3 separate regions of the Homo sapiens genome follow, and regions 1 and 3 are each linked to region 2. The links are contacts of gene promoters, found by promoter capture Hi-C in blood cells and fetal thymus (Javierre and others, 2016). All regions are on one chromosome and are shown on one strand. Each heading gives the region's core, a stretch centred on a gene start or on the middle of the fragment in contact. The rest is flanking DNA. Distances are from core to core; before and after follow the strand shown.

Evidence for each region. The method cuts DNA at HindIII sites, captures the fragments that hold promoters and counts their contacts. A CHiCAGO score of 5 or more calls a contact.
Region 1: the fragment with the promoter of NOL10 here is called in contact with the fragment with the promoter of CIMIP5 in region 2 in 2 of 17 cell types (M0 macrophages and non-activated CD4 T cells); the score reaches 7.3 in M0 macrophages.
Region 3: the fragment with the promoter of GREB1 here is called in contact with the fragment with the promoter of CIMIP5 in region 2 in 9 of 17 cell types (M0 macrophages, erythroblasts, megakaryocytes and 6 more); the score reaches 9.9 in M0 macrophages.

Annotation. Positions count from the first base shown.
Region 1 is chr2:10,688,614-10,691,383 of GRCh38, forward strand. It overlaps NOL10 (nucleolar protein 10), which reads right to left and starts at 1,362. Exons shown (of 21, transcript NM_024894.4): 1 at 1,183-1,362. The coding sequence starts at 1,248. It also overlaps the pseudogene RN7SL832P. RefSeq lists enhancers at 809-868, 929-1,208. The HindIII fragment of the contact is 7,879 bases long and covers 1-2,770 here.
Region 2 is chr2:11,131,834-11,134,694 of GRCh38, forward strand. It overlaps CIMIP5 (ciliary microtubule inner protein 5), which reads left to right and starts at 1,295. Exons shown (of 3, transcript NM_001371321.1): 1 at 1,295-1,758. The coding sequence starts at 1,502. It overlaps FLJ33534 (Putative uncharacterized protein FLJ33534), which reads right to left and starts at 343. Exons shown (of 9, transcript NR_040080.1): 1 at 182-343. The HindIII fragment of the contact is 3,513 bases long and covers 873-2,861 here.
Region 3 is chr2:11,532,549-11,535,413 of GRCh38, forward strand. GREB1 (growth regulating estrogen receptor binding 1) reads left to right here and starts at 1,497. Exons shown (of 33, transcript NM_014668.4): 1 at 1,497-1,706. The HindIII fragment of the contact is 4,942 bases long and covers 1-2,865 here.

The DNA.
Region 1 (2,770 bases), core at 112-2,611, 440 kb before region 2:
AGCTCTCTTCTAATCATTCACCACGAAAAGTACTTTTTGACTACCTTAAATTGCCTTATTTGCTCACTTGTTTATTTCCCTTTTCCCCAACAGGGAACCTTATCTGAAATGTCCACTATAGATCCCAATACTTAAAACAGAGTTGCTTGCACACAGTAACTTCTCAATACATGTGGAGAATGAATGAACAAAATGAGAAAGCTCATGGGGTGTGAAGAACAACTGGAAGACAGGGAATTATTCAAACCAGAATTTTAGGAAGAAAGGAAAAACCTAAGCACTGGCTCCAAATTTTTGTAGAAGCAGACGCATGGAAGGAGAGCTATATTTATTCTGTTTTCCAAGGGCAGGACTCAGGCCAACAGTGGCATGCTATAAGGTGACATATTTGAAAACCACTTTCTAACAAGTGCAGAGTCTCAAAATGGAAATGAGCTTCCACAAAAGGTAGTGCTCAGTGGTAGTGCTTGGACAGAGGCTGGATCATCACGTATAAGAAACAAAAGACAAGTTTCAGAGCCTAAGTGTGTCATGCTGGACAAGTCACCCTTCCCCTTGCTGGATCTCAGCTGCATATTAAACGCATTATTAAATCTCAGCTGCATTACTAAACACGAGAAGATTGGAAGAGAATTACCGACTTGTCCAAGCCCTCTCCAACTTTAAGACTAGGAATCAGGTTAAGTTCAACAAGTCTCGAAAATACTGTCCTCTACACCATAAATTCTGCAGATGCGAAGTCTGTATCTCCCTTGTTCACTGTTGTATCCCTAAGACCTGGCAAATGATAGGGACTCCACAAACAGCTGATGGCCATATGGGGGAGAGATGTGTCAACGAATCTGCCACGTTTTCCTCCTCGATGTACGGCAGGGACTGTGAACACCCAAAGAGGCCCAAATGGTTGCGTTCTCTGGAACAGAGAACTTTACAAAAGTTCCAGCAAAGCTCACTGACCCTGATTATCCCTTGGTCCAGTTTCTGGCGCGGTGACGGCAGTGTCCTTGTCTCCCAATGCCGACACCTCCCCCGGAAATTGTCAGCCGCCTCTGGGCCTCCCCGAGTCGGGGGGTGACCAGCGTCCAGCTAAAACAGAGGCTAGGGCCGAGGAGAGGGGCGGCTGCCCCACGAGGAGGACGACCCCCAAGAGCTCGAGAGTGAGGGGGCCGGGAAGTGACTCACCTCAGGAAGGGACTTGCCGCAGCTGAGGCTGTAAATCTTCACCTCATTGAGGCTGGAGACCTGCATGGCGCCGCACAACACTGTTCAAGTCCCGGGTCCTTTCCCACCAGCGTGCTCGAGCACCGTAATCCCGGGACCTCCGAGCCCCTGCTCCGCGGCGTGCGGCCGCTGGCGCCGACTGATGACGCACTTCCTGGAGCCGGAACACGCGGGCAAGTTCCCGGAAGAGGGAAGGTGGCTGAATCCGGGAAGAGCGGCGGCCGGGAGAAAAACTAGTGAGGCTCTGACAACCCGGCGTGGCTGTCGGCGACGCTGCTACGGGCAAGACTAGACACAAGCCGGGCGCGGTGGCTCACGCCTGTAATCCCAGCACTTTGGGAGGCTGAGGCGGGCGGATCACCTGAGGTCGGGAGTTCGAGACCAGCCTGACCAATATGGTGAAACCCCGTCTCTACTAAAAATACAAAAAAATTAGCCTTGCGTGGTGGCCGGCATCTGTAGTCCCAGCTACACGGGAGGTTGAGGCAGGAGAATTGCTTGAACCTGGGAGGCGGAGGTTGCAGTGAGCTGAGATCGCGCCGCTGCACTCCAGCCTGGGGGACAGAGCGAGATTCCCTCTCAAAAAAAAAAAAAAAAAAAAAAAAACTAGACACAGCTCTCCCTGCTGTTAGCATCCCGAGCGGCAGGAGGAGGCTTTCGAGTCTCTGCCCAGGCCGAGATGTCATCCTCCCGGGCGGGGGCGAGGCAGTTCAGCGAGTGAACCCAGCGAATGAAGGCGACCAGGGTGCGAATTCCGAGTGGAAGTGTATTCTCTTCTCTCCTCCAGTGTTTCTGCGATGTTACGTTAGAAGTACTGTAGGCCGGGTGCGGTGGCTCACGCCTGTAATCCTAACACTTTGGGAGGCCGAGGCGGGCGGATCACCTGAGGTCAGGAGTTCAAGACCAGCCTAGCCAAGATGGTGAAACCCCGTCTCTACTAAAAATACAAAAATCAGTCGGGCCTGGTGGCGCGCGCCTGTAATCTCAGCTACTCTGAAGGCTGAGGTGGGGGAATCGCCTGAACCCGGGAGGCAGAGGTTGCCGTCAGCTGAGATCGTGCCACTGCAGTCCAGCCTGGGCAACAGAGTGAGACTCCGTCTCAAAAAAAAAAAAAAAAAAAAAAGAAGACTGTGGCGTCATCTTCAACCCATTCCTATCTCTGGCCCTCACTTTCAGTATCTAAACCTGGATATTTCTAATTATGAAATATTTCCTTAAAGTAATCTGTTTTCATTCCTCCTGCTGAAACTCAAATACTTAACTATTTTTGGATTATAACTTTCCCAAGTGATCTTCTTACTTCCTTTGATTTAATGAACAAATTATTTTATGCCTTACTTTCTAAAACCCAAATATTATTGTTTTGCTCTCCTACCCACAACATTTTGGAAACTCTCAAATACCAACACCACATTGCATCAGAATTAGGTTGAGAGTTCTTCGTGGACCCTATATCATTTGTCCTTATATTCCCTATCCACCCCATCCACCCCTACCCAGAGTACCAGAACAGTGCCTGGCCTCTATTAGGCATTGCTACATATTTACA
Region 2 (2,861 bases), core at 45-2,544:
AGCCCATCGGTATCTCCCCACTGGGTGCAGGATACCGTGGAAAATACCCCGGGGCCTGCCCCCATGTGCCCTGCCACCCCCGTCCTTGTCTCCTCCCCCACATCTCCCAAAATACCAGGCTCTCTCTTGCATCCAAGCTTTTGTGGTCACCCCAGTTTTTCTACCTGGCAAGTCCTTTCACCTGTGAAGTCCCAACTCCTTGCTGCCTCCCTCATAGAAGCAGAATCCAGCAGGGGCACACAGGACTGGCTACAGTGCGAGCTCAGTGGTTCACTGGCTGCCCTGCTGCCCTGCACCCCGGGCACTCTGCGCAGGCCTCTATTCGTCAGGGCTTTGTCTGCACTTAGCTCTTCCCTTACAAAGATAGGAAGCAGCGCGCCAGCTGAATGGACCCACAGAGAAGCTGCGTGGAAGGAACTGTGAATCTGCCAGCACCTACCGGAACAGCACAAAACTCAGAGAACCGGAAGCAGAGAGTGCAGGAGGCAGAAGTGATGAGAGCAGCGGGCGTCCATGGAGCTCAGCTGAGCCAGACCAGGAGAGGCTGCCACGGAGGGAGCCTGGTTGTACCCAGTTAGAGCAGAAACAGGGCTGAGGGCTCGGACCATAAGCCCTCAGATTCTCACTGTTCCTTTCAGCTGGTGACTGACTGTGTGACCGTGGGCGGTCACTTAATCTTGCCGGTAAGGGCCTCAGTTTCCTCATCTGTAGAATGGCGTTGGAAAGGCATGGCTGGGAGGTCTCAGATAAAGCAGAGTGCTGTGTGAACGCTCTGGGTTTGCAGACAGAGTGGATGTTCCTAGTGCATTGCACTCATTTTCCTCGCCCAACATAAGCTCATGACTTCCGCCATCGTTCCCAAACAAGCAGGAAGCTTCACACTGATGCCTGATCCACAATTCCCAAAGCGCCCTCAGGGCCACCATTTCTTGCGAGCCTCGCAGCATCCACGAGGGGGCAGCACAGGACTAACATCGCCCCACGGCCTGACGGGCTGCCGGAAGCAAGTGCAATAATGGTGGGGGTGGCCCCCAGGAGCCCCAGCTTTGCTCCCTCCCCCTCCCCCACCCTGTGCGGAGGACTCCGGCCTTGGGGTAGGGGGCTGCTGAACTGGGCGTGGCATCTAGTCAGGAACTCTCTGCCCCCCAGCCCTAGGGCTCAGATCACACACACACACACACACACACACACACACACACACACACACACGGGGCCCGCCCCTTTCCTAGGAGCTGTCCGTTCCCAGGACAACAGTCAACACAGCACAGGCGGGAGTTCAAAACGAAACTGGGCTCAAATGCTCTCCCCAGCCCGGAGAGCCCTGTCCCCATCGGCCACTCTGAGCTCGAGGCCTAAAGGGACAGTGAGGAGGACCCTGCCCAGGCTCTCCCGGGGTTAGGAGGGACAGAGTGTTCCAGGAGGAGGTTTGAGCTGAGCTCAGGCACAGGTCTCTCTCTCTCTCTCTCTGACACAAGCGCACACACACACACACACTTGCACCATGGGGAGCCACCCCACCCCTGGGCTCCAGAGAACCACATCAGCTGGGTACCGATTGCCCCCCACCAGGCCACCAGCCTCGGTCTCCCCAGCTGCCCGGGGTGGCCCTATGGCCAGCAGGGGTCTTGCTGGTGGCTGCCAGGCCCCCCAGGCTCTGAAGGCGCAGCGGGTGGCTCAGGGAGCTGCCTGCGATGGCGTGCAGCAGGACCAGCTGTGGCGGGAGCTCCTGGAGGCCGAGCGGCGGGGCCAGCAGCGCTGGTGAGTACCTGCCCTCCCTTTTCCACCCTGACTCCGCAGCCTGACTGCAAGTTGGGGAAGGTTTTGGAGAAAGGGAGATGGGAGGGCAAATGATCTGGCTGAGGGACAGAGGGCATGGCATGCCCGGGGGAAGGTGGGTCACCAGCCCAGCCCAGAGCCAGACCCGAGCCTGAGCCTAAGAAGCGAGGAAGATGGAAGCCAAGACCAGATGCCGCTGGGTCAGAGCAGCCCCACCTCGTTCATTCCGACTGCGACGCGGCCGGTAATCCCTTGAGCTGGAGCCTGCTGGCCTAGTCTGGGTTAGAGGAGCTGGCTGTCTGACCTGACTCGGGGAAAGGATGCTCCTTCATGCATTCATTCAACCAAAAATACCCATGAGCCGCTCTGAAACGAGACCAGACTGCAACAAGGGACTAGACAGACCTGGCCATGGCTCCACCGAGCCTTCATACTCAGGACAGGGCAGCCAAAAAGCAAGCAGAGAAGCAAACAAGTACAAATCTGTATGAAGTGTGACCAGCGGTAAGAAGGAAACAGTTCAGGGTCGGGGGCAGAGCCGGCTGAAGGCCTCTCTGAGGAGGAGACATTTAAGCTGAGACATGAAATAGGAGAAGGAGCCAAGAGTTTGATGTATCTAAAAAACAAAACAAAGAATTCGTGTAGCTGAGGCACAGGGAGTGAGGAAGGCCACAGGATGAGGGGGAGCAGCGGGGGCCACCCCAGCCCTTATAAAAGTCTGGATGCATTTTTTCCAAAGGAGACACCATCCAGGATTTTAAGCGGGAACATGGCATGATCTCGATTACATTTTTAAGTGAGCAGCCTGATAGATTCTAGGATGCATTCATCTTGCACCACTGAAACTTCATACCCGTTGATTAGCAACGCCCCATTCCCCCTCCTCCCAGCCTCTGGCACCCACCATTCTAGTCTTTGCTTCCAGGAGTCTATTTTCAGTGCCTCATAGAAGTGGAATTGTGCAATATTTGACTTTCCATGTCTGTTTTGTTAGTATCCTGTCCTCCAGGTTCATCCATCTTGTTGCATATCGCAGAATTTCCTCCCATTTTAAGGGTGAATGTATATATGTGTGCAGTTTCTTT
Region 3 (2,865 bases), core at 247-2,746, 400 kb after region 2:
GAAGCAACCAAAATACTTCTGATTGCCGCAGCAGACAATGATGAATCATACCTAAACAAGTTTGCTGCCTTTTCATTTCTGTGGGTCGTAATCAGACTCATTGTTTTGTAGCCAGTGAGACATTTGCAGCAGCATGTTTGGGTCTGTGGGAGGAGGGAGGCTTGCAGATCTTCCCAGCGATGTGTGTGCTTGTCCCCACTAGCGCAGTGGAAACAGTGTTCTTGTTATCCAGGTTTAAGCCCTGTTAGGGATATGGCTTGTCCATTGTCATCGTGATGATACTGCTTAAAGATATCCTTTGTTGAGCACCTGCCATATGGCAGACGGTGTAAAAGGTGCTTTACGGTCCTGGTGTCATGGAAAGCCTTCCAACAACCTTATGATAGAGGTATTATTATCTTCATTTTGCCAAGAAAACTGAGGCTCTGGGAAGTTAAGTCAGTCACATAGCCAGTAGATACCAGGCACCCATAAATGTTTGTTGAGTGAATGAATAAATGAAGGAATGAATGGCAACTCCAAACTAATGGGAGAGAAATGCAAGAAGAGAGAGACTGATCAACATGAGACAAAAAACTTGGTGCTACAAGTTAAGAGGTTTTGCACATCCCAATTATTCATTTTTGCAATTTTTAAGCTCCACTTTCAAATAGAGACGGGGATTGGGATGGGATTTCAATGCAGGCGAATAACACAAGACAGATGGAGGAATATGTTTATGATCAGCAAAGAGATCACTCATCTTGAAAAAAACAGATAAATGGGAAAACACTGAAGTGCCAGCCACAGTACTAAATACTCTACTACATTATCTCATTTAATCCTCACAAAGTCAGCTTTGAAGTCAGCACTGTTATCTCTGTTTATGGCTGAGGAAACTGGAGCTCAGGGAGTGAGGGAGGCTGTCCAAGGTCACACAGCTCCGGTGGGTGAGGGGGCAGGGACTGGACCCAGGCACACCCAGCTCCACAGCGTCCCTGAGACTCTGTAAACAGAAGCCGGGAACAACAATTTCATTATTTATGCTTGAATTTAATTTTGTGTTTGATGGAGGAAAAAATGGATGATACACAGATTGCTACCAACAAAACCCAACAATTGGTTCTTTGAGATTCTAGCTTAGTGCAGGGAGAAAGGCAAGCCGGTGATGAACGTTTTGGGGTAGCCAGAAACAATGAACTAGGGGTGACTGGTGTGAAATTCAGTTGTGTGGACCATATTTTCTAAACTAGAATCTGCACACCATGCTCTCCCGCCATGTTCTCCCCTAGGAGAAAATTGTAGCTTGCAGGCAGAAATGTAAACACATAATCAATTCTACTATAACTTGATATATGTGTTCCTAAAAATTATTGCACCATGCAAGATTGGGCAATAAAAACCGCAGGGTTTATGACGAATACAGGCTTAGGGCAACAGCTCTCAAAAACTTCATCAATGACACATTTTTTAAAAAGATAAAAACCTAATAAAAAGGGCAGCACCGTTTTACACATGCTAAATGGTTAAGAGATACATAAATACTGCAGTAGAGATGGGATTTTACCTCAAAGTGCAAAGGTAAATGAAATAAAGTTTTTTCAATGGAAGGCTTGCAGCTCTTGAGGACCTGCCAAATGGAAGAAGGACAGAGACCTGGAGCCCTATGGAAAGTTCTGACACCATGTGTGGAAGGACATGGCTTTTAACACGTGTGGTGACTGGAGGTAGGTGGTAGGTGCTTGAGGCTGGTGTGTGTGCGCCTTTTGTATATTCTCAAGCAGCTGGGGTCAGTTGGGCACCATTTTTCTGAACTTACTTTTGTGTTTCTTGCAGAGGAAATCACCAGGCACACACAAAACCCACAAGGTATTCAAATTGTTCTGTAATATGTCAATCTGTCCGTACAAATTTGCAGTTTCAAAACAAGCGTTATAGCTGAACTGACTGTATGTGGGAACATCACTGCAACTCTTGCTGACCCTGTGTGCTGAAGTGGGGAGCGTGCGGCTTTCATACCCCCAGCCTTTCTGCACAGCTCTTCAGTTTACCTGGGGGCCCCTCAGCAGTAAAGCCAGATCAACAGGCTCACCCGTGAGAGCTCCTCTTGTGTGATTGTTGAGTGGCTCAGTGATTGGGTTGGTTGGGAAACAGAGTGTGGCCCTCAGTCTTCCTGAGGATGGTAATTAGAGGGGGATGTGTGCTTCTTCTTCACATATACCTGGTTGTTCTCTGATTGCTTTGGTGTCTTTTCTTCTGTTTCTTCTCCTGGATGTTGTTTTCATGTTTCCTTCCTTAAGTGCTACATGACCCTTGGATTTTCATGTGTGTTTAAGAGTGAGGCAGAGAAGGTTGACTGGGAGTGTTGTGTCCACAGGGGGCGCTGGTGTCTGGCAGGTGTCACTTTTGGGGTGCTCAGGACAGAATCAGCTGGCATTCTGGAGGCCTCTGAATGCCAGACTGTGCGTTAGCGGCTCTAGTTCTTGTTGGTTGATTCAATTTGTATCAGAAGAGCTTTCGGTATTTTTTGCCTGGGGTGAACGCCTGGCTCCTGGGAGATCTGCATGTGGCCCTGGGGTGGGAGGTAGAGGAGCTACCTGCTCTGTAGACAGGATTTCACAGAAGACCCCTGGTCCCAGCGCTGCTGTGCACTCCTCCCAACACTTGTCTGGCGTATCTGAGTCTCTGCATTTCCTCAGGGCCAGTTGGTCCCCCCAGGTATGCACCCTTCTCCTGTGTCAGCTCCACATTCCCTCTCTAGTCTGGCTTCTGGAAGTTTATGAAACCTGAACCTCTAGTTAGCTAATGGCATCCCTTCCATCTTTTCATCACTGTGGCTTAAAATACCTCACCCCACTTATTTATTTATTTATTTATTTATTTTTA